Linked DNA regions of Homo sapiens: region 1 is linked to region 2. Evidence: promoter capture Hi-C in 16 types of primary human blood cells and fetal thymus (Javierre and others, 2016). All regions are on one chromosome and are shown on one strand. Each heading gives the region's core, a stretch centred on a gene start or on the middle of the fragment in contact. The rest is flanking DNA. Distances are from core to core; before and after follow the strand shown. Region 1 overlaps RIOX2 (ribosomal oxygenase 2). Region 2 holds the start of ARL13B (ARF like GTPase 13B).

Evidence for each region. Contacts are between HindIII fragments. The CHiCAGO score rates a contact against its expected background, and 5 or more counts as called.
Region 1: a contact is called between a fragment that was not itself captured here and the fragment with the promoter of ARL13B in region 2, in 1 of 17 cell types (total B cells). The highest score is 9.2, in total B cells.

Annotation. Positions count from the first base shown.
Region 1 is chr3:97,966,887-97,971,558 of GRCh38, reverse strand. RIOX2 (ribosomal oxygenase 2) reads left to right here. Exons shown (of 10, transcript NM_153182.4): 2 at 3,927-4,397. The coding sequence starts at 3,966. Among named protein-coding and RNA genes, the nearest start is that of RIOX2, 3.2 kb to the left of the region's middle. The HindIII fragment of the contact is 479 bases long and covers 1,864-2,342 here.
Region 2 is chr3:93,977,721-93,981,995 of GRCh38, reverse strand. ARL13B (ARF like GTPase 13B) reads right to left here and starts at 1,841. Exons shown (of 10, transcript NM_001174150.2): 1 at 1,514-1,841. The coding sequence starts at 1,572. RefSeq lists enhancers at 1,674-1,803, 2,074-2,233. The HindIII fragment of the contact is 5,745 bases long and covers 1,199-4,275 here.

The sequences.
Region 1 (4,672 bases), core at 854-3,353, 4.0 Mb before region 2:
AAAAAGATAACTGCTGATCACTCCTTTAGGTCAATAGGAGAACCAGTTTTCCCTCTGGATTGATTAACATATCTCTGAGCCAAAAAGAAATGTTTTAGATCAGTCTGGGCAACCTTGTTACAAGCAATATATAATTTCTGACAGCCGTGTGTTTAACTGAGCTGCGTTTGACTGTTGTCCTCCATTAGTGGACCTAAAATTCATCTAGAGAGCGTATTACGTTAATGCAGATTATGGGCCTCAGCCATCAGAAGTGGCAATCCAGTGGGCTTGATGAGGGCCCAGAAATTTGCATGCTAACAACCTTGCTGGTAACTCTGAACTACATTCTGTAAAACTGCCCAGGGGATGTAGAAATTCATACTTCCCTCCCCGATTTAGTAATAACTACTGATGTCTAAAGTGCCTTTTAGCTTTTACGATACTCTTGAATCCTGAAGTGACAGCTGCAATCAGAAAAATAATCCCCTCTGCACAGGCCATCTGTTTTTTCCGTAACTGTTTTGTGTAAGGCCTTTGTGGTTTGTCTCCAAAATTGTATACAGACAAAAGATGAAAATGTGAAAAATTCAGCAGACATTTCTTGAGGACCTCCTATGTACCACACCGTGCTTGTTTCCGGGGATATACAAATCCTTTCCTTCAAGAGCTTCCTCACGTCTTCATGTCCTCAAATATTATAGAAAAGGAGGTTAGGGTACCTTTAAAATATAGTGACTGTCTGTCTGTTGCCTATAGTATGGTTGTCAACATTGATTTTCTTATAGGGTTTATCTGTGGGGTAGTCACCAAAGTATGAACTGTAAATCTTTTAGTCTTTTTACATTTAATGCTTATAGTCAACTCAAATGGAAAACAATTGCTCTTCAAAAACTTTTCTGTGATTTTACAGAAATATTTACTCCTATTGGGGTGGTCTCTAAGGCTTATGGGCAAGGTTGTGTTGGCTGTACTATTCTAGACAAAGCATTGTCTTCTTTAATTACTATAGTATTGGATTCTAAGATATGTGTTTTACTTCTTGCTGTTTCCGAAATTATGATATGTACCTTAAGACTTTTGTATGTTTAATGTGGTAGGATGCTTCATCTATTCTCCCCTCTGCTCTAGAAAGCTGTTAAGAGGAATGGTTGTCTTACAGTATGAGTAGTGTGAGAATCAGAGAAATAATGTATTTGCCCAGAAACCTCTAAGCTTAGGCTCCAATTAACTGAGCCTCAAATCATTTCAACATGAACACAGAGAAACAAATGATGTAACTTTTGGCAGTATGGGTAGTGAAATTTATATTCTAAGGAAAGCATTTGTTATACAGTATTGGGGTTTGTTAGTGATTGTAGATGGGAAAGATTCTTTTAAGTGATTTTATTTTGGCTTAAGTGTTTTGCATTCTTTGATTAGCCACACTTTCTGGTGAATGTGCTTATACTGTATTCATATATTATGCTTAAAGAAAAGCTTTTCGTTTGCATCTTCCTCCTGCTCTCTCCCCTTAAATGAATTTTAAACTGACCAATTGTGAGAGATAAGAGATGTGTGGCTGAATATAAAATGACTCTATAGGGTGCCTTTAGTAATACAAACCTAATAAACCAATCTAAGTTTTTAAAAATTAAACGTGAGCAATGTGCTGTGGTCCCCAAGGCCATCTTTAGTTCAGCAATTTGCTAGGAGGACTCGGCTGATTTATTACAGGGAAAAGATATCAAGCACAGTCAGCAAAGGGAAGAGGCACATGGGTGAAGTTCTGGGGATACCAAGTGCAAGGCTCCAAGGGTCTTCGAGCGGTCACACTGGCTGTGCTCAGTTGCTCCAGCAACTAGTTGTGTCAACACTTGTGAAATGTTGCCAACCTGCGAAGCTTGTTAGAGACTCAGTGCCCAGGGCTTTTACTGGGGGCTTTTCACTTAGGCCACCCCTGCCTGGCACATACCAACGTTTCCAGACTCCCAGAGGAAAGCAGGTGTTGGTATAAACTGTAATGATTGTACATTTTAGGCATGGTGAGCCACTCCTATCAGTTAATGGTGGTGGAAACTCTCCCAAAATCTTAAGTTCTCAGACATCGGCCACAAGCTGCACTTTCAAAGGATAGCAGTCAGGCCTGCTATGGAACGTCTTCTGCATAAGCAGTACCCCTTCCCGAATCCATTTTTCTATCTCTTTGTATTTCTCCATCACTTGAGAGTTCCATGTACTAGCAATGCTGTGCCTTCCTGAAGCCTTAATTCTTTCCTGGAGAATTCAAGCTGGTCTGTTTCACTTAAAGGAAACATTTTCAGAAAATGTGTCTTACTGACCACATATCCTAAACACTAAAGTTTATTTTTTTTTTCTAAGCTTCAAGCTTTACCCCTCTCCTGTAGTATCAGTTTGTGTTAGTCTTCCACCATGTCCTGTGTTTCCTTATCAAAAGCACCTGGTCTTTTGAAGGAATGGAGCTGTTTAGAGGGTTTTATATTTTGACATTTCCTTTCTTAATTTGTTCAGTTTACATCTGGGTTTCAATCTAAAGTTTCTTTTATAAGTTGCAACACGTCACACAGTATGCAACACATCGTTCCAGGATGCTTACTTCCCAGGCCAGAACATTAATTCCACTTAGTCTACAGTGTAGCTGAAATACTGCTTAGTTATAATGACAAAAGAACAGAAAACAGTATTCTTGCAATTCTGATAACTCACCAAAGTAGGAAACTATACCATTTATAAATAACAAGTCTTTCAGAAATTTTGGTTTTTATAAGTACAGTGGTTCTTAACCTTGTCAGGAGATAGGGACTTCCTTAAGAATCTGTTGAAAGTGATGGAGTCCCTTCCCAGAGGGAAAGGACTTTAAGATAGAATTTTGCAGTCTCAGGAAATTTAAATAATTTGAATTACAGTTCTTGGAAACAGATGAGGGAAACCTACCCTCTAAGTATCAATAGTTGTGGTTTGGAGGCAGTTCTGAAGGAGCTTTGCAAGGCTTGGCTGTGTGGCTTCGACTACTCAGCAGTGTCAGCAGCAGAAGCATCACCTGGGAGCCTGTTAGAAATGCAGAACCTCAGGCTTCACCTTGGAGCTAGTGGATCATATCCTGCATTTTATTGAGATGCTAAGGTGATCTGTGTGCACATTAAAGTTGGAGAAGTGCTGTGTTAGGGGCTAATGATATTGGTATTATTTAAAATCTTCAGTTAAAAAGTTATAGTTTTTTCAAGGCTTTAGATATAACTACTTTTAGCCTTCACTTTTCAGCCTTTAGGGGCTTTATTTCTTTAAACGAAGGGGAGTTTCTGATAAAAGTGGCCGTTTTCAGGAATAAGCTCAGAGTTGGAAGTGAGCAGGTTCAGGTGGTTAGTGGAGACAGGAGAAGGCAGTGGCCTGCTCCAGCCACCAGGAGACACCGCGGGTCCAGGGCGCATTGATTGACCTGCGCAACAGTTGGGGTGGTGCTGCGGTGAGGAGCACCTGGCAGTGGGCGGCTGTTAGTTTTTCTCTAGTCAAATGTTTGTAACTCAGAGTACATCTAATTAGATGTGGGCCCTGATGCTGATGGGAGCCAAATCCAAGATATTTGACTTTGCTGTGTCAGTGGCCACAGGCTAAACCTGTGAGTAGGAACTGCTGAGACAGTTGAATAGGTTTATTTGGGATAATTATACTGCCTAATAAATAATACCATGACATAGTGCTTGTGTAAAAGAAAAACACGTTCTTCTTTAGATGAATATGTCATCTGAGTGGTGGTTGAGCTTGAATCATATCTTAGAAGAAATGGCATTGGCTTAAGGCTGTCTCCTATCCTGGGGGAAGTAGCTTTGACCTATGAAGAGTTCTCACGAAGGTGTAATGGTCATTCAGTTGTGTGTGCGCGCGATCCACTAACACCAATGCTGGCACTCCTTGTAAACCTAACCATGTGTGTTTTGTTCTTTTGGTAGGTTTGCATTTCCTTACTGCTTTGTCTTGAAGACAGAACGATGCCAAAGAAAGCAAAGCCTACAGGGAGTGGGAAGGAAGAGGGGCCGGCTCCCTGTAAGCAGATGAAGTTAGAAGCAGCTGGGGGGCCTTCAGCTTTAAACTTTGACAGTCCCAGTAGTCTCTTTGAAAGTTTAATCTCGCCCATCAAGACAGAGACTTTTTTCAAGGAATTCTGGGAGCAGAAGCCCCTTCTCATTCAGAGAGATGACCCTGCACTGGCCACATACTATGGGTCCCTGTTCAAGCTAACAGATCTGAAGAGTCTGTGCAGCCGGGGGATGTACTATGGAAGAGATGTGAATGTCTGCCGGTGTGTCAATGGGAAGAAGAAGGTTTTAAATAAAGATGGCAAAGCACACTTTCTTCAGCTGAGAAAAGATTTTGATCAGAAAAGGGCAACGATTCAGTTTCACCAACCTCAGAGATTTAAGGTAACCAGTTTCCCCATTGCAGAATCCTCATACATTTTAAAGTACTAACATTTGGCCACATATCAGCTCAAGGGTGAATACGTAGTTTGATGATGGTTAGTCTCTTGCCAGTTTGAGAAGGGGTAGCACCTCTTTGGTCTAAATGCATTCTAACTAGGATTAAGATTATGTGTTATGTTTGGTTGGACTGTTAGAAACTCCAGCAACTCAGGGTAGACATTGTTGGGTATCATTGAGCTGCAAAACTAATTATACTGCAAGTTTATAAAGTTGTT
Region 2 (4,275 bases), core at 592-3,091:
ATGAATGACCCTCAAGTCTTAGTAGATACTGTGAAATTAGACCAGAATATAATTAAAGCAAATAAATCAGAATCTATGCACCTAAAACAACTCTTTGACTTTTTTCTTTTTTTTTTTTTTTTTTTTTTTTGAGACAGGGTTGCACTGTGTCACTCAGGGAGTGCAGCGATATCGGCTCACTGCAACCTCCGCCTCCCAGGCTCAAGTGATCCTACTGATTCAGCCTCCGAAGTAGCTTGGACTACAGGCGTGCGTCACCGTGCCCGTTTATTTTATTGTAGAAACGGGGTTTCGCCATATTGACCAGGCTGGTCTCGAACTCCAGGGCTCCAAAGATCGGCCAGCTTCGGCCTCCCAAAGTGCTGGGATTACAGGCGTGAGCCACCACACCCAGCCCATCTTTGACTTACAGAGTTGATCTTACTACTTATATTTAAAACATTCAAATTCAGTTAGGAGCTAATAATGGGGAAGAATCTCTAGTTTCATTTAAAGTTACTTTTTTTCCAATCTAGACATGTATTTTCTGTTATAATGTGTAAGTGTAGCTTTTCAGATTCATTCTTTAAAGGATAGTTCATTCTCATGGCAAATATACTTAAAATGTTAACAATTTAAAAAAAAAAACAACTTTGCTTTATCTTACCCTTGGCCCAATTCCAGACTAGAACTATGTGAAGTCAACATTATTTGTGTAACAAACACAAGATCTCTTTATAGGTTAGGCCTCAGTTTCAAAAGCATCAATTTCACTGATTATTTCCTAAGACAGTGCCTGGCACAAGGTATTGTCTTAATAAATATTTTTTGAATGAATGAATATCAAGTAACAGGTACTAATTATTAATACTTCCAGCATTTCAAAATGAAATGTTAAAAAGTGGACCCTTTCAATTAAAAGGTTTTACTAGAGACCGTATAAAAATTGGAAGCTACATTACAGTTAAGAAAACACTATCACTTGTTCTCATTGAATACAATATTTCTAAAGCAGAGTATTATCACTCTCATTTAATATTTAAGAAAGGTGGGGCCAAAATGGTTGAGTCATGTAATTATTAAGTAGTGGAGCCAGATTTCAAGCCCACGTCCTCAAATACAACTGTGTGGAGGTGTGACTTGGAATGGAATGTGCGGATATTATGAAAACTATATTCCATGTCCCCCTCTTTTTAAAAGAATTTCCATTACAAAAGCTTCAGAGGAAAAACACACAATGGATAGTTTTCAATTCCACACACACACACACACACACACACACACACACACTTTTTAACAAATTCAAACCTATTTAAAATATAACAACGGTAAGCATTGTCAATCGCAACAGAAAGTCGACCAGACAACAAGGCTACATCCTCCAATCTCTCCCTCCCGGGACACCCTGGGAATGAAAGCATCCCTTGCGGCCTGGGATAGACTCGTCCAGGCGCGGGGAAAAGGCGGCGCCTCGCCCCTGGGGCGCAGCCATCTCCAACCCCTAGGACGGCCAGGACAGCTGGCTCCAGCCTACCTGACAGGCTCCCGCCACCGCTTGAACCAGCCGCAGCAACTGGCCATCAGACTGAACATCCCGGGTCGCTCCTCCCACCACTTCCCATCCGAGCCCGGAGCGGACACCGGCACCCCGCTCTTCCCCGGGGGCCTCCGGCACTCCGAGACGCCCCTAAAGTGGATAAGTCGGGAGGAAAAGCCGGGAGGGAAGTGAAGGCGGCCGGCCCGAGCACTAAGCCTTGCTAACCGCGTGGGTCCGCGACGACTGCCCTCTTAGCCAAGGAACAACCTGACCAAAGACGCAGATACACCGTAGCCGAGTTAGCGGGACCCGGCTAAAGAAAAGCCCCGCGTCGACGTGCTGACGTTACTTCGAGGCGCGGAAGGCGTTCCCCAGGCAACGCCCGTACTGCGCTCGCCCAATCATCGGTTGAGGTCCTGAGGTAGAGGCCTCTGAGTGGCTGAAGAGTCCTGGCTACCCGCCCCTGCGCGAGACTAGGAAAAGAGAAAGGGGAGTACTCTATAAGAAGGAGGCGGAGCTCGAGGTAGCTCGTTCTCGTAACTAGGCAACCGGAGCGTCCGGAGATAAGCTGGAGGATCCGGGACAAATCTCCAGCAAGGCCTATCTTTATACCTACATAAAATGTGTTGCCAATCCACGGTGCTGTTCCTTTCCTTTCTCCAGTGTCCCCAACTGAGATTCAGAGATCTCAGGTCTTGTGCATGGGTTTTTCTTTTTCTTTCTTTCTTTTTTCTTGTTTTTTGTTTGTTTGTTTTTTGCTCAGGGATGGGGACCCTCTAGAATTCTGGCCGACTTAGGCAGCATGACTACAGGAACAATACACTGGGGCAATTCTTGTAAGTTAAAGACAAGGGGGAAATTCGCTTGCTAAATTTTCTCAGTAGTTCAGATGAGAGTGAAGCCTTAATCTCTAAAACGTTTATTACTGTTACATATGTGAAACGGAATTGTATGATATTTGTTGTAGGGGGGATTGTGATTACAAAAGAAAAATGCATTTCTTGTAGAAAATGTGAAAAATACTAAAAAGAAACAAGATGAAGAAAATGAGATCTCACAGGAGCTCTCAAAGATAACCATTTGGGGCCGGGCGCGGTGGCTCACGCCTGTAATCCCAGCACTTTGTGAGGCCGAGGCGGGCGGATCACGAGGCCAGGTGATCTAGACCATCCTGGCTAACATGGTGAAACCCCGTCTCTAGTAAAAATACAAAAAAAAAAAAACAAAAAAAAACAAAAACGGGTGTGGTGGCACGCGCCTGTAGTCCCAGCTACGCTGGAGACTGAGGCAGGGGAATTGCTTGAACCCGGGAGGCGGAGGTTGCAGTGAGCCGAGATCGCGCCACTGCACTCCAGTCTGGGCAACAGAGCAAGACTCCGTCTCAAAAATAAATAAATAACCATTTTGATGTATGTTTGTTTCAGGATTTTTAGGTACATAAATTGCTGGCTATTTGGTATCTGCAAGATGAAGATTGTTATCTCTTGACTGTTTTGTAATAGTTTATTTTTTAAAGAGGTATGTAATATTTGCATTTCTTTTATATACTTTGGAGAAAAAGAAATGACAAGGACATTCCTGTAGGGAAAAAATTATGCACAATATGTAGGGATCTGTGTGTCCATTCATTTTCTACTTAAATAAATATTTTCAAATCCTGATGAAAGGATAGAAGGCACTGAGAATCCCAGTGTATTCGCGGGGAATATAATGATTTGAGACTAAGATACATATAGGTTTTAAATTAGTCTCTGTCCTTTACTAAATCATGTAACTTTTTTTGGTTTTGTTTTGTTTTGTTTGAGACAGAGTCTCCCTCTATCACCCAGGTTGGAGTACAGTGGCATGATCTCGATTCACTGCAACCTCCGCTTCCTGGGGTCAAGTGATCCTCCTTCCTCAGTCTCCCAAGTAGCTGGGACTAGAGACGTGCACCATCACGCCCAGCTGATTTTTGTATTTTTTGTAGAGACAGGGTTTCATCATGTTGCCCAGGCTGGTCTCAAACTCCTGGCCTCAAATGATCCGCCTGCCTCGGCCTCCCAAAAGTGCTGGGATTATAGACATGAGCCATGGCACCCAGCCTCATGTAATTTTAATTCAAATTTATATACATCTCATACAGCTTGCTATCTCCAAAATACTGTGCCTTATGGGGAACAAAGGGGGTGATACCTTTTCTTCTCATCATAACAGTCACAGCCAACACTCATATAACAAAAAGAATAGCAAGAGAAAAGCATAACAAATTTATTTAATCCAAGTTTTATGTGACATGGGAACCTTGCAAATGGAGATGCAAAGATGCAGGGAAGACTACCCATTTTTATACTTGGGTTCGATGAAGAATGAAAAACCCTGAAGAACTCTCATTGGTCAAAAAGGATATGACCTAATGAGAGCAGACTGTGTGGAGAAACTCAGCAAGGCCTGTCTGTTCAGATTCCTCTTGACCTGATTGTTCAGCATTCCTTCTTCCAGGGTATGGGGTAGGACCCTTTCTAGAATGGGAGTCTTAAGACGTACTATCAAACAATGCAAGTCAAAGAATTTATTTATGGGCAGGTCTTTCATGGAAAGGAAGAAGGTTAGAGTAATATTTTGGGGTTTGTGGCTGGCTTTGGGGAAAGGGGGTTGTGGTTTCTATAACTGCACCTGGAGAAAGAGGAATTATAGTTTCTATGGCTTGCATAGTGGGAGAATGAGGGGCAAGAGACGAGGAACAGAAGGTTAGAGACAGAAACTTTGCTTCTGAGGCC